2 separate regions of the Homo sapiens genome follow, and region 2 is linked to region 1. Evidence: promoter capture Hi-C in 16 types of primary human blood cells and fetal thymus (Javierre and others, 2016). All regions are on one chromosome and are shown on one strand. Each heading gives the region's core, a stretch centred on a gene start or on the middle of the fragment in contact. The rest is flanking DNA. Distances are from core to core; before and after follow the strand shown.

What was found. Contacts are between HindIII fragments. The CHiCAGO score rates a contact against its expected background, and 5 or more counts as called.
Region 2: a fragment that was not itself captured here is called in contact with the fragment with the promoter of BEST1 in region 1 in 8 of 17 cell types (erythroblasts, neutrophils, M1 macrophages and 5 more); the score reaches 9.6 in erythroblasts.

The regions. Positions count from the first base shown.
Region 1 is chr11:61,945,649-61,951,643 of GRCh38, reverse strand. BEST1 (bestrophin 1) reads right to left here and starts at 1,293. Exons shown (of 11, transcript NM_004183.4): 1 at 1,217-1,293. It also overlaps a transcript of RAB3IL1 not described here. RefSeq lists a silencer at 5,432-5,595. The HindIII fragment of the contact is 17,311 bases long and covers 1-5,995 here.
Region 2 is chr11:61,906,908-61,913,232 of GRCh38, reverse strand. It overlaps RAB3IL1 (RAB3A interacting protein like 1), which reads left to right. Exons shown (of 10, transcript NM_013401.4): 2 at 4,927-5,179; 3 at 5,573-5,668; 4 at 5,763-5,840. Among named protein-coding and RNA genes, the nearest start is that of RAB3IL1, 7.5 kb to the left of the region's middle. The HindIII fragment of the contact is 2,236 bases long and covers 812-3,047 here.

The DNA of each region.
Region 1 (5,995 bases), core at 44-2,543:
TCCAAGGCCCTGCCAGTTCTGACTGCCTTTTGGAAGTAGAAACGCAAGAAAGTGAGCCCAGAGGCTGCCCTTTGCTTTGGCAGGGAAGACGTAGATAGGCGTGTGCATTGCCATGTGCCTTTAACTTTCTATAATCACTGGGCGCAGTGGCTCATGCCTATAATCCCAGCACTTTGGGAAGTCGAGGCAGGTGGATCACCTAAGGTCAGGAGTTCGAGACCAGCCTGGCCAACATGGTGAAACCCTGTCTCTACTAAAAATACAAAAAAATTATCCAGGCGTGGTGCGGGTGCCTGTAATCCCAGCTACTCAGGAGGCTGAGGCAGGAGAATCGCTTGAACCCAGGAGGTGGAGGTTGCAGTGAGCTGAGATCACGCCATTGCACTCCAGCCTGGGTAAGAAGAGCAAAACTCTGTCTAAAAATAAATAAATAAATAAATAAATAATACAATGACAAAGGCAGTAACAGCAGCAATGTCTACACACTAAGCTCAGGTCCTCTGGGCTAGGCAGTGTTCTCAGCCCATCTTGTTCGTTAGCTCCCAAGCTCTCTCAACCACCCTAGTGTGAGAAGTATGGAAGGGACCAGGCAGCCCTGTCCACCACCATATTCCCATTCCCATAATGGAACCTAGCTGGTAGAGATGCTCAAATGATGTTTACTGAATGGTGGCTCCAGGGCCTTTCCACCTGCTGATCTTCCTGCCTGGAGGAAGCTCTTCCTGAGATACCTGCATGGTTCCTTCCCACTCCAGGTTCCCTTTAGAAAGGATGTTCCCAACCATCCAACCTGGAAATAGAGCCCCACTGCCACCGGTGCTCTGTGTCTCCTCACCTTGCTTGATATTTCTAGAGAGCACTTATCACTACTTGAAATTATACAGGATATCTGCCTGTTTCCTGCCTGTTTCCTCCTCAGAATGGAAGCTCCTCTTGTGTTCTCGTAGAAGGCGCTCAATAAAAATTTACTGAAGCAGTGATTGATGCCCCCTCCATTCTTTCCCTGTGTGTTTTGCTGCAGCCACACTGGCTGGCTGTGCCTGATGCACACCAAGCTCATTCCCACCTCAGGGCATTTGCACAGACACACAGGTGCCCACACACCTGCGCATGTGCTGCCTGTGTGTGCATATCCCACACAAATACGCAAGATGGCCATCCAACCCTGAAGGCCTCAAAGCCCCAGCCCAGTCCACCTGGGGCACCTTGTACTCACAGGTGGGGTTCCAGGTGGGTCCGATGATCCCACAGAAGGTCTGGCGACTAGGCTGGTGGGACTCCCTGGGACTCTGTGGCCAGTGCCCCTGCCCACTCTTAGAGGCTGGCACTGCCCACGTGAGTGCTGAGCCGCCGTCACTTGACTCCCTAAGCCAGGACCTCCACAAAGGAGTCCTTGTCTTAGTCCCTTCTTGTAATCTGCTCAGAAGCAACGGCTAGCACAGCCTGGCCATGGCCCCTCTAATTTCTTCTTGGAGGGTGTTGGGCTGAGACCAGGGCTGGAATTTAGGGCAACACCCCCTCTACCATGGCCCTAAAATCCAGAGGCTAAAGGATCTGCTCCACCAGTGTTCTGACCCCTGAGGCCTTGCAGAGAGAGTTGGGGGTTAGGGGGCTGTGCTGAGCTTCAACTTCTGTGCCAGGAACTCTCCAGGAAGGAGGAGCCTCTGACTAGGCCCTGGGGTCTTTGACAGCCCTGTGGGCTATGGAAAGAATGAATACCGGGCTGCAGTCAACAGTCCTGGTTTCTGGTCCCAGCCTTGCCACCTGTGTGTGGTGACCCCGGGTAGGTTTCAGCTCCTCTCTCAGCCTCAGTGCCCTTATCTGAAAAGGATGGTGTTGCTTGGGAATTTCATCACCCTAGTAAAATGACAGAATTCTGCATATGCTGACGAGGAGCTCTGATTGGCTGCTGGTGACATCATACGTTATTCTGGCTGTGATTGGCTGGCAGGGCCCATCAGTAAGTTGCTTCAGAGAGATGGAAGGAGAAGCCTGCCGGGGCTGGTGGAGGGGGGTGAGTCTGGTGGGGGTTGACAGAACAGCCCTGGAGTTTATGCTGCTGGCTTCCAGCCAGCCAGTGCAATATGGGAATAAATGCCCAGATCCCCACGGGCAGCTGGTGAAAATCTCAGCATGTGATTCAATAAATTTTAATACATCAATCCATACTCAAGGGCTCTCCTAAGCTGTTGGAAGTGGTGGGTGTCTACCTACACACTCCTCTTGTATTGTTCAATGAAGAGAGCAGAGCTCTAGGCAGCAGTGGTTCTTGGTCTTTAGAGGCCGTAAGAATCGCCCAAATGTTTATTAAACGGGCAGTTTTCTGGATCTTTCTCCAGAGTCTGAGTCTGTGGCCTTAGGGATGTTGCATTTTAATCAAGCACTGCAGGGGATTATGAGATGTGTGGTTTTGGGACTAAACTTCCAGAAGCCCTGATTTTATAATATGACCTTGTGTCTTAAACCCACTCTCATCCTCCCTTTCCTGTCACCCTCTCTCTCTGAAATGTACTAAGCGTTAACTATGCTGAGATTGCAGGTGATTTTTCTACACACCACTTTTTTTTTCACTTTAAGTTCTGGGATACGTGTGCAGAATGTACAGGTTTGTTACATAGGTATACATGATGTGCAGGTTTGTTACATAGGTATACGTGTGCCATGGTGGTTTGCTGCACCTGTCAACCCATCATCTAGGTTTTAAGCCTTGCGTGCATTAGGTATTTGTCCTAATGCTCTCCCTCCCCTTGTCCCCCACCCCCACACACCATTTTTGCCTTTATATAATTATCTGCCTAGAAAAAAAAACACTATTTCGCAATGACCTTGAATACTTTTCTAATCATGGCAAACAATAAAGCTGTTGTTATTATAAGACTCTCTTTAGAGGCAGCCTTGTAGGAGTATTTACTGCCTCCCCGCTGCCCCATCGCTGTCCTCAACTGATATGGGGAAAGAAGCAGGTTCACTTCAGCCTCAGTCTCCTCATATGCAAAATGGGACAACGATGCCTACCTTGGCAGCCGAATGAGAATGATGGATGGGACATGTGTCCGTCAACTCTCCAAACCACTGGTGCCTGTGCCTGACCCCTACGAATTCTGATTTGATTGGTCTGGATGGACCCCAGGTGTTGGGATTGTTCAAGTTCTCCAGGTGATTCTGATTTTATGGCCTGTGCTGAGTCATTGCTTAATGGATTATTTCCCTATCCTGTATTCCCTTCCCAACCAACACATCCTGAAACTCAAGAGCTTTCCATTTAGAAGATGATAAATATATATTATATATATTTATATATTAACATATGTAAATATGTATTAATATGTCTATAATATTACAAATATATTTGTATGTACACATATATTTATACATATAAATATATAAGTAAATATATAACTATATTTTTGAGACAAGGTCACCCAGGCTGGAGTGCAATGGGTGTGATTTTGGCTCATTGCAACCTCCACTTCCCAGGCTCAAGCAATCCTCCCATCTCAGCCTCCCAAGTCGCTGGGACTACAGACGCACACCACCACACCCAGCTATTTTTTTTTTTTTTATAGAGATAGGGTCTCACTACATTACCCAGGCTGGTATTGAGCTCTAAGTTCAAGCAGTCCTCCCACCTAGGCCTCCCAAAGTGGTGGGATTACAGGAGTGAGCCGCCACACTCGGCCAATAAGTATGTTTTAACTAAAGTTAACACACATGCCTGGCACCATGCCTGGAACATTGATGCTCATTCTGTACTCTCTGAAGGAATAAATGAAAATCCTGCCTTTGTGGAGACAAGTTCTTGCCTTCCCTGTGGTGGCCACTAGAGAGCGTGCTTGACTAGCTGGCTCTGGCTGGGGAAGCCTGGTTCACTGGTCAGGATCAGTGCAGACCACGGAGCTGGCACTGCTTCATCTCCCTGACCCCGACCAGCAGCCATAGAGCCATGAGAGGGAGTTGGAGACACTAGAGTCCCTCCTCCCTGTTCCCTGAACCGCAGGCTCCTTGGCAATATCCCAGGAGTACCACCAGGACCATAGACAGTGCATGGCCAGTCTCCCTTCCCCTCCCAGAGGCCCCAGCATGTCCCCAGAGACATCCCATGAGCAGCTGCTCCTGGCCCTGCCCCAGAGCTGAGACAGGCACACCCTGGCACAAGTCATGGTCTCTCCTACTGGGTCTCAGCTATGAAAATGTCCCCAGTTAGCCAGGCACGGCTCAGGCACACAGCAAAGTCATGAGTGCTGATTGACCCAAGCCATGCCTGGAACAAGAGTCCCAGGATTGACCCCTGCAGAGATGGCACCCAACCCAGTCAAGGTCGCCCTCTTCTGCTTTCCGTTCCGCAAAGAAAATATTCGCCAAACCATTTCTCCTTCCAGAACTGAGCCTAATCTGATTCCTGCCTGTACGTATTCATAGTCAAAAAATTTGGAAACACTTAAATAACAACTCTAACACAGAATGGCAAGGCCTAAGATCTGTGCCAAGTGCACAGAGGTCAGGGAAATTTTTACAGACAATGGGGCATTTCGGTTGGGTCTTGAAGCATGAGTAGGAGTTCATGGAGCTGAGAAGAATGGAAGAGCATTACACATCAGGGGAACAACCTACGGAAAGTCATAGAGCTATTCCTGAAGGATGATTCAGTATCGCATGTTTATCCACATTTTACAAAGGAGGACACTGAAGCTCAAGGCCTGCCTTGTCCAAGGTCACACAGCTATAAATGGCTTGAGACTAGGATCTAGGTCTTTTGATTTTGGATCCTGAGCCCTTTCCCACTATCAGCTCTACAGTAAAGGTCAGTTTCTGAGAGGTAGAGTCTTACCTGCTAGGGTAGTGGTCTCTCTTGGGGTTGAAGGGAGGTCCAAAGGATGGGGCCTGCATGAAAGATACTTTTTTTTTTTTTTTGAGACGGAGTCTCGCTTTGTTACCCAGGCTGGAGTGCAGTGGCATGATCTTGGCTCACTGCAACATCTGCCTCCTGGGTTCAAGTGATTTCCGGCTAAGTATTGTATTTTTAGTAGAGATGGGGTTTCACCATGTTGGCCAGGTTGGTCTTGAACTCCTGACCTCAAGTAATTCACCCGCCTCGGCCTCCCAAAGTGCTAGGATTGCAGGCATGAGCCACTGTGCCTGGCCGCATGGAAGAAACTTTGACTGCAGCAGATTCCAAGCTCTCGAGCTCCCCAGCAGAGAGCCATCTCTTGGGGCAGCAGGGCAGAGCTGGGGAGATGCGCGGGGGTGCCAGACACAGAATGCTATGGCCTTCTCATCTAGAATTACCATAGCAACAGGAGCATCACAGAGGGCCTGCCTCGGTGCCCTTCTAGGCCCTGCCTCAGCTGGGCAGGAAGAAGGAGACCCAGCTTGGCTGGGGGCAGTAGGCAGGGGGCCCCGGGGTAAGTCAGCCAGGCCTGGATGCTGCCTCCAGGCTTTATGTGGGACACCTGCCAGCCCACACCCCTCTCTTGGGCCAGTCACAGAACAAATAGGGCAGAGGCCAAGAAAGAAAAGGAGGGGGCTTGGCATAGCTGGACAGGGGTGCTGGGGGACACTGCCAGTCCAGGGCCCGGAAGCCAGACAGACAACAGCACCTCCACCCTGAGCTCAGGCAGCCCTGATCCCTGAAGGACGGAGTAAACTCAACATTCAAAGAGATAGAAACATAAGCCCTGGGCACCACAGAAAGACGACAGAAACCAGGAGAGGCTGGGATACACCTAGGTCCAACTTCATCAAACCCAGTCCTGCCCATGACAACGGAATAGCATGGAATAGACCAGAGCTGGACCAACTAGAGACACAAGGCAAGAGGATCCACTGTGCTGCGAGGTCCCCCATGGACTCTGCCAGGCTGCAGTCGGCCAGGTGAGGCACTGACCACTATCCACCTTCCACCCACCCCCACCCCTCCAGCTCAGAACTGGGGCTCGTGGCAGGTGGGTAGCGGAAAGGACATCATGGGTCAGGCTTCTCCTAGACAACTGTGCAG
Region 2 (6,325 bases), core at 680-3,179, 39 kb after region 1:
CTTCGGCTCTGGTGTCCAACACTCTCGTCCTTTCTGGCTCTCAAGCCCTTGTCCTCCCTGACAGCCCCTCATCCAGGCTCAGGCTGCAGCTGCTCCCCGAAACCAGTGCCACTCGACAGCGTCACCCCATCCTGCCTATTCCCCCTCAGCTGCCTACGGGACGTGCCACTTCCCAGATGCCTCAGCCACCCACTTTCCTGTCCCTGAAAGACCCCCTCCCAGTTCCTCACTCCCAGCATGGGTACCGCTGTTCTCAGCTTTCACCTTTTCCTTAGTTTTGAATTATCTTAATTATTGTTATTGCTTTTTCCTGCCCCCCCATCCAGCCCCTGTTCCTCCCACAATTCCCCCTTCCCATCTTTGTTTCTGTGTGTCCCCTCTGCTGTCCCCTCTTAGCCCAGGTCCTGCCTGGCTGTACAGCATTCTTGGGTGGCACCTCCAGTACTTGGGCGCTGTCTCAGACTTCCTCAAACCCCATCTGCCTCTTGCCTCACTTCTCCAAAACCGCCATTCATCCCCTTTCCTCTGGGTGACAGGCCACGTGATACGCTATGCCTGTACTCTGCATTCAGTTCCCATCCTGCCACTTCCTTGCTGTGCATTCTGGCCAGGTCACCATCCCTCTCTGAACCTCAGGGGCCTCATCTGGAAACCAGGTGGAGGAGCGCATCTCCCTGCAATTGTCCCGAGCTTCCAGGCCATGACACCTGTGGAGTGGTGGGCTGGCGTGGATGTGGCCTAGCGCTTGGGAACCTGACATGCTTGTGGGTTTGGGGCTGAAGACTTGGCCGCTCTCTAGGGGAGCCAAGCTTTGCTGGGCTTGCAGGCTGGCCTGAGAGCTGGCCCACCAACCCTTTCCTGGGACTCCCTTGGTCCCTGGATGTTAATCACATGGCTGTGAGCCTCCGTCCCCTCAGTGTCACCGCAAAGGCTGAGCGTGAATCTGAACAGGCCCCTGTGCCAAGGCACCGCCCCGGGGAGCCAGGCCCTGGGTCGGGGTTTCTGCAGCCTCCCTAGAGGCCTGGGCCCTGGCAGCCCGCTGAGTGGTCCCAGTGTGCCCTCCCAGCCGTCTCCTTCGTCCAGTTTCAGAACCACCCTTGCTGTCCCCTCCCCTGCTTATTGAATGAATCCATTGTGCCCATGACCAACAGGGGTCTTTAGTTCCAGGAGGTAACTGGACAGGGTCATCTTGGGCACTGGTTGAGGAATAGGCTGGTCTGGCCACTGGCCAGGCCCTGCTGGCTTGGGGACACTGAGAGACCGAGGGCCACGGAGTCTAGGTCTCCTTCTTATTTTGTGGGTCGGGGCAAGAGCCCTGCTGGCCCTCCTAGGGTGGGCCTGGTGGGGTGAGGATTGTGGTTACTGCATTTTCTTTTGGTTGTGTGTTTCCTGGGGAAGTGACCCGTGGGGCCTTTCCTGTATGAACTGCCTGGGCCTCTCGGCAGTGGGAGCTGGCTTTGGGATGGGGGATGTTGGCTGGGTGCCCCATCTACCTCTGACCTTGACTCCTACCCTCTGAACAGGCTCCTTTCCAGAGGCATCTGTGGCTCATCTCAGATGCTGGGCTCTGTTTCTGCAGGGAACGGGGACTGAGGAGGTTTGTACAGAGAGCGGTGGACCCGGACTGAGGAGGGTAGGGACGCTGGGCAGCAGAACATTAAGTGGTCCCTGCTTGCCCCACGACTGAGTTCACCACTGACTTGGGTGTTCACAGCCAGGTTTTCAGGCCTCTGGTCTGGGAGGCTAAAGTGTGTGTGAGATTGGAGATTCTGGCTTGGGCTGGACCCGAGGAGCCCAGGGTCCCTTCTTTGAAATTTCTGAGTCTCAGGAGTTGGCCTTGCAGCCTGGAAATGAGGAGGAAGAGGGTCTGCAGATTCTGGCTACCCTCCAAGGGCAGGTCAGGCCCTTCTTCCCTCCTGCTCCTGCCACCTTTGGCGTTGGGGAGTTGGTGGCTACTGGGTGGTCCCACTGTTCCCATGTTCCCACACTTCTTGCCATTGGGATTTGGCCTTGGGCTCTTCTACTGGGGGTGATGGGAAGGATGTCACAGACTCTGTCACAGGCCTCCTGGACCACTGTTTCCTCTGGCTACAAAATTGGGCCCTGTCCCCACTCTGCCCCACAAGGCAAAAATGAGAGCCTGTTGGGAAAATGGTGAGGTCAGCCAGCCACACCTCCAGCCTATGTGCTTGGGACCAGCAGGAGAGAGAGTTAGTCTTTCACTGTGGCCAGAGGCCCAGACCACACTGGTGGATGAAGCTCGGCCCCCATGGGAGGGCCGGCAGCCTGGTTCTCCTCGGTCAGGGCATAGGCAATTGCAAGAGTCCTCTGTCCTGTCCTGTGCTGTCACCTCTTGCCCTTGGCCTGCAGTGAGCAGCCCCCAGCCCAGCCTGAGTGACTATGGCCATCCTGTCCTACCTGAGGACTTGGGCCATGATGATTAAGGTGGGGACACATATCCATCACTCCATCAACAGTGTCTGTGCCAGACAGGGCTCTCAATACCCTTGTTCGGGGAAGTCTTCTTGGCAAGGGTCCACAGGCCTCCAGTTTAAGCTGTGGGACCCAGAGCCCAGGCAGGCTTCGTGAGTGTCTCAGCCAAACATGGCTGTGGATTGAACATGATTCACCCAGCACCAGGTCAGGACTGCTCTTAGAGCTCTTGATTCTTAGAGCACCTCCTGCAGGATTTCAGCTCCTATCCCTCAGGTGCAGAAGCAGGTTCAGAAAATTTCAGTAGCATTCTCAGGGGCTCATGTGTACCCCAGGTCAGAGGCTGACATGGACCCCAGGCTTGCCCCATCTGGCCTGTTCTCTCTGCCACAGCTCCCCCTGCCCAGGCCCTGCCTTCTGGAAAGGGGGTTTCTGGGCCTGCGCAGAGTCTGAGAAGCCAGTTCGGGCCAGAATTGGGTCAGATTTCCCTACTGCAGCCAAAGAGGAGCCTCCGAGTCTCCCTGGGCCCAGCAGCGCTTTATCTTGAAGCAGATGCGCCGATTCCAACACTCACACTCCGCACCCACCTGCCCTTCCCCTGCAGCGGGGAAGCTTTGGGCCTGGGCTTGAAGACCTGGCCACCTGTCCCAGCACTGTCACTGACCAGCTGCGTGACCCCTGACAAGTCCCTTCACTCTGTGAGCCTCCGTCCCCTCATCTGTAGAATGGGACAATACCACGAGTGCTGTTGAGAGAGTTTTATGTTTGTTTGTTTGTTTTGAGACAGAGTTTCGCTCTGTCACCCAGGCTGGAGTGCAGTGGCACAATCTTGGCCCGGCTAATTTTTGTATTTTTAGCAGAGATGGGGTTTCACCATGTTGACCAGGCTGGTCTCGAACTCTTGACCTCAGGTGATCCACCTGCCTCAGCCTCCCAAAGTGCTGGGATTACAGGCGTGAGCCACTGCACCCAGCTGCTGTTGAGAGAATTTTAAAGGAGACAGCGTGGTCAGAGACCTGTGGAAGAGTCTGGCAGAGTGAGTCCCCAGGGCACAGACCCCAGCCCAGGGCTCCGCCATAGCTCTCAGGCTGCGGGGAACCCTTGCCAACAAGACTTCCCCAAACAGGAGTATTAGGAGAGAGCCCTGTCTGGCATAGACACTGTTGATGGAGTGATGGATATGTGTCCCCACCTTAATCCTCAAGACCCACATCCCTGCCAGGCAGGACCCAGCTTGAGGAGCCTTGAGGCCACACTCTGGGCCGGTTCCAGAGCAGAGGGCAGGTGGGGCTGGGCAGCTGGACCGGGCTGTGTGAAGGGACTCATTGCTGGAAGTGGGCTCCTTGCAGGAGTCTCTGGGGGCCCATTTTCTGTGTGTTAACCAAGGGAGAAACTGAGGCTCAGGGGCTGCTTGGTGACCTTCCCAAGGTCCTGAGGACAGGGAGGGGAGACTGGTCCACAGACTTGCCTCTCACTCCTCCCTCTGCCTCAGCCGTCCTGAGTCCCACTTTCTCCTTGGCCTTGCCTTCCCCCTCTGGTGCAGCCTCCCTGAGCCCCTCCCCCCAACTTCCCTCACTGATATCAGTGGCCCGCCCAGCCCCCCATCCCCAGCCCTGGTTGCTGCGGCTCAGAAGCTGCTGGCTCAGGAGCCTCCAGCTTTTGCTGAGTGAGCGAGTCCAGAGGTGCTGTCTTGGCACAAAACACCGCTGGCCGGGCCCTCGCCCTCCCTTCCCTCTCCAGGGTCCACTTTGGAGTGGAGAGTGTGGGTGGGGGCGGAATGAGGCCTCACACCACCTCCAGGGTCTTCAGCTTCAGGGAAGGGAGGGTCCTGAGGCCCAGAGAAGGGGGTGTTTGCCTGAGGTCACAAGGCAGGCCAGGGGAGAGCTGGGACTGCTCCCCACCAAGTCCAGGGGGACAGGAAGTGGGTCTGTCTTGTCCAAGCTGTTTGCAGAATCTTCCTGCCTCAGCCCTGCCTGCCCTGGCCTCATCCTTCCTCTCTGGTCCACCCTGAAAGGGGCAGAATTCGCATTAACTGTATCAGTGAAGGCAGCTCCTGCTTGAGTGCATCCGAGGTGTCAAGGTTTTACCCACACCTCCTCTGATCATTCAGTGACCTTTGAGGTAGGGCCATTGGAATAGGCTTCACTTAATACAAGTGGGACTCAACCCTGATGCATTTACAGTCACCTGTTAGACAAAGACGCTGACCACCTACTGTGTGCTGAGCACCTACTGCATGTGCCAAACACAGCCCTCAGCCCTGGGCTGGAAGGGGTGGTTGACAAAGAGTAATAAGCCTCTTGCCCCAAGAGACTTTGTGCTTGGACATTTGCCCTTGTAACAACACTGATGATAGCTGGTAGGGTCCCAGTTTTCAGATGGAAAGGCTGAGGCTCAAGTGGCAGGCACATTGCCCCGGGGCGGTTTCTGGACTCAGCTCTCCAGGCCTCAGGACCCCACCCTGAACCTGCTGATACCCTTGTTTGTCTCCAGCCCACCCCAGCCAGACCAGGGCCTCCCGCCGCCCCTTGCAGCTGTCCCGGTCCCCTGGAAGAGCACGGACCCCTGCCAAGGCCACAGGGAGTCCCCAGGAGCCCTGGTGGAGACCTCTGCAGGGGAGGAGGCCCAAGGCCAGGAGGGCCCCGCAGCCGCCCAGCTGGACGTGTTGCGCCTGCGCAGCTCTTCCATGGAGATCCGAGAGAAGGGCTCCGAGTTCCTGAAGGAGGAGCTGCACAGAGCGCAGAAGGTGGGTGCCTGCAGTAGGCTGGGGGGTCTTCGGTGGGGAGAAGTCAGGTTGGGAGAGCTGTGGGCTCTCATCAGGTGCCCAGAGATGTGCCCAAGGGAGAGGGATGTGCCCTCACCGAGGCCAGCTGCTGGCCAGGCCTGTACTGGGCGCACCGATGGTCACCCGTCTTGACTGCAAACGTGCCCTGAGCTCTGATGAACTGGCAGGCAGGGCTTCAGCTTCATGCTGTGGCTAAACGGAAAAAGCATCACAAACTGTCAGGCACCAGAGGAAATAAACTCTGAGCCCCACATAAAATGACGAGGGGATGGAACCTGGTCCGGTGGGCCTGGTCCCTCCCGTGCCAGGCCTGGGGATGCTGAGGTGCTCAAGTGCCTGCCTCTTTTCCTCCAGGAGCTGAAGCTAAAGGACGAGGAATGTGAGCGGCTGTCCAAGGTGCGGGAGCAGCTAGAACAGGAGCTGGAAGAGCTGACGGCCAGCCTGTTTGAGGTACACCGGCTGGGCGCGGGAACAACTTGGGGAATGGGTCATCTGGGCGTCCGTTGGCTCCTCACCACTCACGCAGGGACTGCCTTCTTCCTAGGAAGCTCACAAGATGGTTCGAGAAGCCAACATGAAGCAGGCGGCATCAGAAAAGCAGCTGAAGGAGGCTCGGGGCAAGGTGAGGCCCATCCCCGCCTGCCCAGGCCAGCCCAGGCACCCCCCCTGCCTCCCGGCTCAGCGAGCACTGAGCTTTGCTGCCCGAGTGGACGCTCACCTGGCCCGGTGGGGCCAGCAGGAATGGGTGAACCTAGGCCCAGGGAGGGAAGGGAAGGGTGGGGGTCTGAGATCACAGGGCCCAGTGTCCCGGGGCTCCATCAGTGATTCTGCTGCATGGCAGAGCCTTTTCTGGGATAGTGCTGGGGCTGGGAGGACCCTGTGATTATTGTACCTTCTTCCCTCTCCTCCCAGCCCCACTTTACAAAGCAGAAACCTCACTCAGTATGGCTGTCTGAGCCTGGGCAAGTCGCTTCCTCTCTCCAAGCCTGGTTGCCCATCTGCAAAATGTGAGGCCTGGGCCTTTCCTGGCTCCTGGGGGCGGTCCCAGAACTCTCATGGGAGGCCCAGCCAGCTCCCAGACACTTGTTCCTAACAGAATCCTGCTCA